3 separate regions of the Homo sapiens genome follow, and all the other regions are linked to region 1. The links are contacts of gene promoters, found by promoter capture Hi-C in human tissues and cell types (Jung and others, 2019). All regions are on one chromosome and are shown on one strand. The core of a region is centred on a gene start or on the middle of the fragment in contact, and the rest is flanking DNA. Distances in the headings are between cores, read along the strand shown.

What was found. Contacts are between HindIII fragments. The study calls those that stand out against the background at their distance.
Region 2: a contact is called between a fragment that was not itself captured here and the fragment with the promoter of IFNA16 in region 1, in 4 of the 25 tissues and cell types used here (aorta, lymphoblastoid cells, mesendoderm cells and 1 more).
Region 3: a contact is called between a fragment that was not itself captured here and the fragment with the promoter of IFNA16 in region 1, in 1 of the 25 tissues and cell types used here (spleen).

The regions. Positions count from the first base shown.
Region 1 is chr9:21,215,235-21,218,931 of GRCh38, forward strand. It overlaps IFNA16 (interferon alpha 16), which reads right to left and starts at 2,077. Exons shown (of 1, transcript NM_002173.3): 1 at 1,139-2,077. The coding sequence starts at 2,071. The coding sequence ends at 1,502. The HindIII fragment of the contact is 8,956 bases long and covers 1-3,697 here.
Region 2 is chr9:21,788,757-21,792,453 of GRCh38, forward strand. No RefSeq gene overlaps it. Among named protein-coding and RNA genes, the nearest start is that of MTAP, 12 kb to the right of the region's middle. The HindIII fragment of the contact is 5,476 bases long and covers 1-3,697 here.
Region 3 is chr9:21,772,193-21,775,889 of GRCh38, forward strand. No RefSeq gene overlaps it. Among named protein-coding and RNA genes, the nearest start is that of MTAP, 29 kb to the right of the region's middle. The HindIII fragment of the contact is 4,969 bases long and covers 1-3,697 here.

The sequences.
Region 1 (3,697 bases), core at 827-3,326:
AATGATCAGCGATGTTGAGTTTTTAAATGATTATTGGCCTCATAAATGTCTACTTTTAAGAAGAGTCTGTTCATATCCTTCACCCACTTTTTGATGGGGCTCTTTGTTTTTGTAAATTTAAGCTCTTTTTTGTACATTCTGGATATTAGACCTGTGTCAGTTGGGTAGGCTGCAAAGATTTTCTCCCATTCTGTGGGTTGCCTGTTCACTCTGATGATGGATAGTTTCTTTTGCGTGCATACGTTCTCTAATTAGATGCCATTTGTCAGTTTTAGCTTTTGTTGCAGTTGCTTTTGTCGATTTCTTCATAAAATCTTTGCCCATCCTGTGTCCTACATTTTTTCTAGGGTTTTTATGGTTTTGGGTTTTACATTTAAGTCTTTAATCCATCTTGAGTTAATTTTTGTATAAGGTGTAAGGAAGTGGTCCAGTTTCAATTTTCTGCCTATGGCTATCCAGTTTTTCCAGCACCATTTATCATCATTCCTTCTAAATACATTTTATCATCATTCCCTCTCGTCCTTCTAATGATAAGGTATTCCACCTCTGTTTTCTTTGTGTGTCTTCTGTTCCCCCACTTTAATAGTGGAAGTTCCTCAGAATCCAGTTTAAGTCTTTTTTTCCCTCTCCGCTTGCTCCCCACATGACAGCCTTCATTTTAGGCCTTTCCATTGCCAGTTATGAACTTCCAGATATCGTATTCCTTGGAAACTGCAAACTCATATATCTGACTTGCAATGTACATTTTCAATTACATGTTGAAAGTCAGTTTATAGAGAGTATCTCTACTTTTACTTGCAGACATTTCTTAATCTATGTTCTGCTAAGAGGAATTCATTGTTTTTTTTTACTTCCTCACATTACAGCAGTTAGTATAACTGATATTAATTCAGCATTATTATTGTTTTTAGAAACATTTCCTGACAAAAATCAAAGATACAAGACAACAAGAACTGTATTTTTTATGTTCAAGTTTATATCCTGAAGGCAACATATAACGTGGTATAGAAAAATATATTTTTCTATAACTTGAATAAAATTATGATAGGTAACTTACTTAAATCATCTATTTTTAAGTCAGGTTATACAGTCAGGCTTGGTATTTAATCTTAAAAAATAAACAAACACAAGAAATTTTGTATAGTAAAAATTTAATGAAAAGGAAGTTAATATATTAACTAAATATGAAGAACATATATTGTTACATTAAGCAAAATGTAAAGGTACACATGATATTACATAAAACATGATTTAAACCTTAAAAATAGTTAAATAAATAAATATTTAAATAAATAGATGAATAGAGACATCAGCATGGTCATCTGTAAAGGACTAGTGCCTGCACAGGTAAACACGATGCTTCTTTACACTCCTGAAAACATTTGAAAATTTTGATTCAACTTGTGGTGGTTATAGAAGTGAGTCTTTGAAATGGAAGAACTCATGAAAGTGTGAGATGATGTATTAATCAATGAGGATCATTTCCATGTTGAATGAGTTTTCAATCCTTCCTTCTTAATCCTTTTTGCAAGTTTGTTGAAAAAGAGAAGGATCTCATGATTTCTGCTCTGACAACCTCCCAGGCACAAGGGCTGTATTTCTTCCCCATCAGATAAAGAGTGATTCTTTGAAAGTATTTCCTCACAGCCAGGATGGAGTCCTCATTCATCAGGGCAATCTCTTCCACCCCAACCTCCTGTGTCACACAGGCTTCTAGGTCATTCAGTTGCTGGAAAAGTTCAATGTAGAATTTGTCTAGGAGGGTCTCATCCCAAGCAGCAGATGAATCCTTTGTGCTGAAGAGATTGAAGGTCTGCTGGATCATCTCATGGAAGGCAGAGATGGCTTGAGCCTTCTGGAACTGGTTGCCATCAAACACCTCCTGGGGGAATCCGAAATCATATCTGTCCTTCAGGCAGGAGAAATGAGAGATTCTTCCCATTTGTGCCAGGAGTATCAAGGCCCTCCTATTACCCAGGCTGTGAGTCTGAGGCAGATCACAGCCCAGAGAACAGATGGATTTGTAGCTGAGCACCAGCACGGCCATCAGTAAAGAAAAGGACAGGGCCATTGGGATGTTGCAAATATTGCTAGGCTACTGGAGATGGGTAAACTTGAACCTTGGCCTCTAGGTTTTCTGAAGACTTTGCTCTGTGCATAGTTCTTAAATAGTGAACATACTAATTTCCATTTTCTAAATGCCCTGGTTTTACTTTCTATCTCTGTTTTTGCTTTCTTTATGCACTCTCTACATGTGTTTACATATGTTTTTCATTTTGTTCATCATTGCCTATTTTTCCCCTGCACTCAAAGACTTTTATGGTATTTTTTACTAATTGGAATCTTCATGAAATTTTAATAACACAGATTTGGCATATCTATTTATGTATACTACGTATACCTCTACTTCACAGATAAAAACTATAAAGTTTGCTCTTTTTATTCAATGTAAAGTTAAGAATGACAGAAAAGTTAAACTAAAATCTAAGTTTAAAAGCTGTTGACATATAACTTAATTTGATAAGTATATTTCTGGAATAACTTTTAGTGTAATTCATTAATGTAAATTATATTTTATCAAATTACATATGCAATATAAAAGCTATATAAATACACGTTAATATGAATGTAATTACATACTGAATCATTGAAAACTACTAAATATATGAATCAATAATTTTTTAAAATTTTTCTCATAGTGTATGAAGCTTTGAATTTTGCTTAATATGAGAAAATAATTTGTAAACTTTACTAGCTGCAGTATTCATCCAGATATTGCCAACACTTTTTTCTTTTCAGCACTTGACATAAATATTGATGTGTTGAATAACTGTACTAGAAATAAATCATATGATACAAGCTATTTGCATTGAATTCTCAAAGTCTACAAAACATCCTGAAGAACTGAGGATCAAACATAAGCAATAACCATAAGATAGTCAATGGCAGCCCAAAGGTGTGCAGGTTAAAGCCACATATTATGATAAGATTTTAAGATCAAGCAAAAATGGACAGAATGTCCTCCTATCACAGTCTTCTATTTGCCATAGGTTTGTAACACTGATCTTGCAAATATTTTGTGTATCTTCAGGAACTCAATATCAGTGCTTCTCATGTGATACAGCAGAAAATCCAATGAGAGAGATGTATATTAAGCAATGAAATTTTGTTGGACAGAGTTGTTAGAGAATCACCAACTATTGTAATGTGTTAGGTTAGTTTATACTTCGAGAACCCTTAGGAGAAGTATCACATAGACATATGTGACTTAGAATATATTATCATGTAAAGAATTAATTTTCAGAGTGGTCCTGAACTCTGACTCTACCTTTTCTTTTGCCTAAGAAGTTAGTTTGCCTTGGCCCTATAGATACTGAGTCTTTAAATGGAATGAGGTCTGCTTTAGCAAATCAGCTATTTAGTAAGTGGAGTTTTTACTAGTTTCTCATTTTTTCTTCTACTGGAAAGTGTTCAAGAATGAAGCTATTTTGCTTCCTCATGGCCATATTTGCTGGGATTGTAATAGACAATGACAAAAGTTTCCATTCAGCTTTTACTGAGAGTCAATAATGCCCATTTAGTTTACTGCTTAAACCACTGGGATTCTAGTTTTTTTAAGGTTCATGTAGATCTGGGGATACAAGTTGCAAGAGCAGCATAATATCATCCTTTGCTAGCACTATGTTAACTATTTATG
Region 2 (3,697 bases), core at 604-3,103, 570 kb after region 1:
AGCTGAGCTTCATGTGGGAAATCAAAGAGCCAAAGACAGGGACTTTTCATTATACACAGAAATCCGACGGAATGCTTTTTATTCCCATTCAAGCAGTTACTACTTATCTGCGTGACTAAGGTATGGAAGATCTAAAAAGAAACTAAGTGCTAGTCTGGCCTCTACTCCTTCACCCAGATGGAAGTTTCACAAGCACGTTTAAAGCTTCGGGTCAAGTGCTGTCACTCTCAAAAACCAGTGGGTCTGCATTTTCCTTTGCACTACAAGTACTCTAACTACAGACATTGTTCCGGTTTTTATCTGATTATAAGTATCCAACTAAAGTAGTTAAATGTTTAGAAAAGGTAAATAACTGATAGTGCATAAGGGAACCTGAAGTACTCTGTTGACACTTAAATTATATAGCCAAGGACAATGGAGGAAATCATTTAGTGCTATTAATCAGTAATCTAACAGTATTGTGTCTGTGTGCAACTGTCTTTCTTTTGGCTAATATCTGTGAATTAATTGGTCATTGAAAAATCTGATAAAGGAATATTCTAAAAGTACACAGTGAAATCCAAATTATTTCTATCAATTACAGCTCACCTTTTCTGAGGCTTAAACTTGACATGTAAAAACATTTTAGTTATCTGTTTCAAAATGAACAATATACCTCTGGTTAAAATTCTACCTTTTAAAAATTAAGGTATTTGAGACCTACAGGGATTAATTCTCTACTTAATATTTACTTTACTTTAGTAGTTTTTCTACAGAAAGTTTGTGAAAGATTTCATCCCCTATATATGTTTCTTTATCCTCCAAAATCTGGTCCTACAACTGTACTCCTTGACCCATAAGGTCAAGTGGTGCCATCTGCTGGTCATAAGAAGTGGTGTCATCTGCTGGTCATTGGTATATAACTATGAGAAAAACCACGTGCACTGTTGTAGAAGCAACTTAAGTAAACTGCAGTAGAGTACACTTACCACTTTAGAATTAACCTTTAAGTTATAACTTCTCTCTTTCCCTTCCCCCTTTCTCTCTCGCACTTTCTCTTATGAAGCCAATATGACTCAAGTTTTAGACTATTTTAAAAGGCAGGTTTGAGAAAAAAAAAAAAGAAAGCAAACTTTTGATGCCCCCTGGTGTTCAGGTTCCTTAGCATTTCTGAACTTCCTCTTTTGCTAAAACTAAAACCATAATAATGTGTTCTTCATTCATTCATTCATTTAGTCATTCACTTATTCATTCATCTAATGAACATAACTATATCATGAACCTATGAATTACACTCTATTTGAGATAACTGGATACCAAATTGTGGCCAACATGACAAGGAAAGAAAAATGAAGAATCTCAAGACAAAATTCAATTGAAATCTGTTTTGAAGTGTCCTTTGAGTTTGTCAGTTCAGTTGTAGCAAATCTGTGATGGCTGCCCTTATAAGTAACCTGAGGAAGAGAGGAAAAGAGGGTAGAAGGTGAAGGGAAGAGAGGGGAGGAGGGAGAGGATGGGCTGGATCAGTGAACATAATATAATCCACTCATGACACACAGAACAGACAACTTGTTGCTTCCTCTTTAAGTGCATTATAAACTAACACTTTTTTTTTTTTTTTTGAGATGGAGTTTTGCTCTTGTTGCCCAGGCTGGAATGCAATGGCCCAATTTCAGCTCACTGCAACCTCCGCCTCCCGTGTTCAAGCGATTCTACTGCCTCAGCCCCCCAAGTAGCTGCGATTACGGGCATGCGCCACCATGCCCAGCTAATTTTTGTATTTTTTAGTAGAGACGGGGTTTCTCCATGTTGGTCAGGCTGGTCTCGAGCTCCCAACCTCAGGTGATCCACCTGCCTCGGCCTCCCAAAGTGCTGGGATTACAGGCGGAAGCCACCGTGCCCGGCCGACACTTTTAAATAAAGAGATAAATGAGCTTGATGGGAATATATTACTTTACGAGCAAGATTTGTGTCTAATGCTTTAACTTAATTGTGGCAATTATTGTCAGATGGTCTAGGAAAAAATTGTGTATCTGGTACATGACTTTTGGGGAGCTCTAGGAAGCCCTCAGCAACATCATATTTCCCTTTGCACACCTCTGCTCCAGAGATATTTTCACAGTTGGATAAGATGCTTCTTAGATGATCACCAATACTCCATGCCTACTCATCAGTCCAGCCACTTGAAACAATCACCAGTACAACAGGACCGCCATATCTCCATGATATGAAATGAAGAGCTCATCCACGTGCCAGGAAGGTGGTGCACCCCAGCTGAATGGGAACAGAAGTTCCTGTGCTCAGGACCCTTCTAGACTTCACTTTATGTATCTTTTTATCTGGATATTTATTCATATCCTTTCAAATACCCTTCATAATAAATCAGTAAACGTGTTTCCCTGAGTTCTGTGAGCCACTCCAGCAAATTAATCGAACCCAAAGGTGGGGGGAGGAGGTTCACGGGAACCCCAATTTGAAGCCAGTCAGTCCGAAGTTCCAGAAGCCTGGACTTGCAACCGGGGGGAAGGAGGGGATGGGCTTGTGGGAGTAAGCTCCTAACCTGTGGGATCTGATGATTTATCTGGGTAGATAGTTGGAATTAAATTAGAGGACACCCAGCTGGGTCCTCCTGCAGAATTGACTGCTTGCTTGCTGGAGGGGGAAAATAAACACATATTTTTGGATCACAGAAGTCTCCTGTGTTGATTGTTATGGTGTGAGAGCACAGGAAAAATGGTTTGAGAGTTTTTCCTAAACAACATGATATACACGTACCAAAATATCACTGTATCCCACAATACATACAATTATTTTGTGCCAACTAAAAATAAAAGGAAAAACAAGAATTTAAAAATCCTAGCATGGTACTGGCATAAAAGCAGACATATAGAACAGTGGAACCCAACAGAAATTTCAGAAATAAACTCCTATTTGTGGTCAATGTAGTTTTGACAAAGATTTCAAGAACACACAGTGGGTATAATGACAGTCTCTTCAATAAGCAGCGTTGGAAAAACTGGATATCCACCCACAGAAGAATGAAATTAGACCCTCATCTCACTCCATATACAAAAATAAACTCAAAATAGATTTCAGATTTAAATGTAAAGCCCAAAACTGTAAAATTTCTAAAAGAAAACGTAGAGGAAATGCCCTGTGATACTGGTCTGAACAGTGGTTTCTTGGATACAACATAAAAAGCATAGGAAATAAAAGAAAAAATAGACAAATGAGACTGTATCAAACAGAAAAATCTTCTGGACAGCAAAGGAAATAATAGAGTAAAGGAACAACCCAAGAATTCGGATAAAATATTTGCAAATCTGTCTTCTGATAAGGGCCTAATATCCAAAATATATAAGGAACTAAAACAATTCAGTAGCAAGAAAACAACCTGATTTAAAAAATGGGCAAAGGACCAAAGTAGACATTTCTCAAAAGAAGATAAATGGCCAACAGATACATGAAAAACTATTCAACATCATCAATCATCAGGGAAATGCAAATTAAAATCACAATGAGATATCAAGTCATTTCTATTAGAACGGCTATTATCAAAAAGATGAAAGAGAACAAGTGTTGGAGGGGGATGCGGAGAAAAGGGAACCCTTGTGCACAGTGGTAGGAAGGTAAATTAGTATAATCACTTCAGAAAACAGTACAAAGTTTCCTTAAACAAACAAAAATACAATTACCATATGATCCAGCAATTCCACTT
Region 3 (3,697 bases), core at 723-3,222, 560 kb after region 1:
GCACTTTCAATTCTTGCATTTTTAGCATAATTATAATACATCTGCACGGCCTTCAGTAGTTATTCTCCTCATTTCTCACCTTTGTATATATTCTGCTACTAGTGCTGAAGAATATATAAATTATGCTAGGTATAGAGTTTGAAAGGCCTAAATTTTAATCACAGATCTATAATGTACTTGCTAAGTAACCCTGAGCAAGTCCTTCAAGGTTTCTTGGCCTGTTTCCTCACCTTTAAATTGCGACAATATCTGTGCTTCAGAATTCTTGCAAATATTAGATATTATACATGCAATACTGCTGGCACGTAATAGGGGTCTGAAAACAATGGAAACTGATTTTCTTCTAAACCCTTAGTCTTTCCCCTTCTCCCTGTCCTTTCACCCAGCATCTCCCCCTAGAAATGTTTCTGTTTGTTTATTTAGAACAGTCAGTAGGCATCAATGGCATTTTGGGGCCATGACATTGGGGACTTTCTCATTGGTTGGCAAGTCCCTGACTTTGTCCTCATTCCTCTTCTTCAACTCAGTATTCTGTGCTATAGCATAAAGGAAATTGAAGTAAGAAATTTTGAGCATGTCAGTGTCTAATTGTACAATCAGTTTCCAACTAGGCTATAAAGAAAGAGATTTCACCCCCTGCCAGAGTGCTTTAGGTCAATAGGGTTGAGAAGCTTTAAATATTCCTCTCTAAGGAAAGATCCCTTGAGACTCTACATCTCACCTCAGACTGGATGTTACTCCACTTCAGTGTCTTCATATGGATTATAATTATAATTTTCTGATAAATTGTGTAATTATTGACTAGCATACAGTCTATTTCAAAAAGGTAGGAGTTATTTCTCTTTTTCACCACTGGAATCTTAGCAGTTGGCACAGCAGATGCTCTATAAATATCTGTCAAATAAATGAACAAAAGAATTATGGCTGAGCCTGGATTTTAGAGAAACTGAAAGCCTTCCTAATTAAATACAAACTCAGCCCATTACTTTCACTTCTCAACTTTAAATTTATGTTTATTATGCTCTTACACATCATCTTTAGGCTGTTCTTCCACATAATTGTCAGTCCTCAGCCTTAATATTTGAATTCTAATAAACTGCTCTTAGAGGCTTACTGTGTAACAGCTGAGTTTTCTACTTTATATGCATGCAGTATCTAGAGGTTAAAGAGGAGGTCATTATAATCTAACCAGAATATGTTTGAATTTATAAAATGAATGATAATATTACCATGAAGCTCTCATCACTCCACAGTTTGACTGTTAAACAATAGGACTTTAACTTTTTAATTCTCATAAATTGATATAATTGCACTTAGACTTATTTATCTTTATTGTAGTTTCTTTAGAAAAAAAGCAAATGTTTGGCAATTATTTAAAGGAATCACCATAAAACACTCTTCAGAATTTGAACTGAAGTAGTAGCTCAAGTGTTGCCAAATAATTCACTAAACTATGAAATCATGTGTGTGTGTAGAAATAATATATACAATCCATTCTAACCTGTTACTTGATATAAATATATACTGCATAACCATATATAATAATATAATACTTTATATATAGTTTTATATACAATGCACATATAATGCAAGAATATAAATTAGTTTTAAACAATGCATAAAATTTTAGCATGCTCTTTTTATGGAAAGTTTCTAAATAACATAATTTTTATTCTAATTAAATTAATTTGAAATTATTTATAAAACTATATGGAAGCAATAAAACCACCTACAATGGGATGTTCCTAGAGTCCTCATTGGTAGCATCCAGGAAAAAAGAAGCCCTTTTAAATTTTAGGTTTTTTTTTCTTTGTGAAACTATATATACAAAAAGAAAAAACTAATAAAACTAAAGTCATACTGCATAAATAATTGTGCTCTCTGATTTTTTTCACTCAAAATACACAGTATATAGTACGCATATCTTTCAAAAGTCTTTAATCGAATCATTTTACTGGCCATATAGCATCTCATTCTATGTATTTACCCAGTCCTCTTATATTGGACATTCAAGATAATTTAAGTTTTCTAATATTATAAATAAGACAGTAATGATAGTCATTTGCTAGGTATTCCACCATACCCAAAAGCAAGCTTCAGCCTAACTAGGTAATAATGCATGTTTTGGTCAGTTTCAAATCCGGTTGATAATCAAACCATAATAAATTGGTTGTCCTTTGGCCAGGTACCCATGCCTGATTGAACCAATCAGGGCCAACAAACCCTGGGTAGAAATGTTCACAGGATAGAAAATAGTGCTAATCAAAGTGTTGCATCTGGAGTGCCATTCAAAATTAGGCAAGATGGTTTTAGGTGGCACATGAACACATGAATAGTTTCATGTTTGTTTTCAATGAATAATGAGGTAACATCAGTAAGGTAATCTCTTTTCATGAATATTAACATCAGTTTTAGTGATAACATTTTATTAATTCATTGAACAAATATGTACGGAGGATCTCTCAGGTAAGCATTGGGGATGCTACTATAAGCAAGACATAAAATTTCTAACCTCAGGAGGCTTACATTCTAGCAAGAGAAATGAGTAATATGGAGGAAATATCAGAAAGTAAGAGAATATAAAATGTGCAGCCTTGGCCTCACTTTAGATAAGGGAGATCTCGGAATTGGAAGGTATCTCTTCTATGAAATAAGGGAATAAGCTGTATAAGGATCAAGTACAAAGACCCAAAAGATAGAGCAAGCTTGGTGCACTGCAGGAAGCAAATTCAGCCAGCTTGGAGTAAGGGAGGGCTGGTAAAGATGACATCAGAAAGGTGGGTCAGGGGCCAGATCACAAACAGCCTTGTGAGCATTAGTAAGGACTTACCATGTTCTCAGTGTAACAGCAAACTATGGGACGGTTTAAACCAGGTTAATTGACCAAATTTATATTTTGAAAACAATCTGCTGCTGTGTGAAGAATTGATTGAAAGCATGCAAGAACAGAAATAGGAAGACATGTTAGGAGATTAATACAACACTCAGATATAATAATAGTGTGGACCAAAATGATAGAAGTGGAGACAGTGAGAATTAACAAATTCAAGGCACTTTTTGAAGTAGAGGTGACAAGACTTGTTGATGATAGATATGCCAAATGTGAGCCAGGCACCATGGCTCTTGCCTATGATCCCAGCACTTACGAAGCCTGAGGCAGGAAGATCGCTTGAGCCCAGGAGTTCAAGATCAGCCCAGGCAACATAGCAAGACACCCCATCTCTACAAAAAATAGAAAAAAATAACCACGTGTGCTGGTGCATACCTGTAGTCTCAACTACTCGGGAGTCTGAGGTGGGAGGATTGCTTGAGCCCGAGAAGATAAAGCTGTGGTGGGCCGTTACCATGCCACTGCACTCCAGACTGGGTGATAGAGTAAGAGCTTTAAGAAAAAAAAGAAGGAAAGAAAGAAAGAGAGAGAGAGAGGAAGGAAGGAAGGAAGGAAGGAAGGAAGGAAGGAAGGAAGGAAGGAAGGAAGGAAGGAAAGAAGGAAGGAAGGAAGGAAGGAAAAGAGAAGGAAAAAAGTCAAATTTGAGAAAATAAAGAAAAAGGATAGTGCCTAGACATTTGATTGTGCAGTTTAGGGGATGGATAAGCCAAGGGGAATCCATATAAAGAGCAGATGTGAGAAGAAAAAAAAATTTTGGTTTTAACATGTTATGCTTCTTAGATACACAAATGAATGTACCTACTAGGC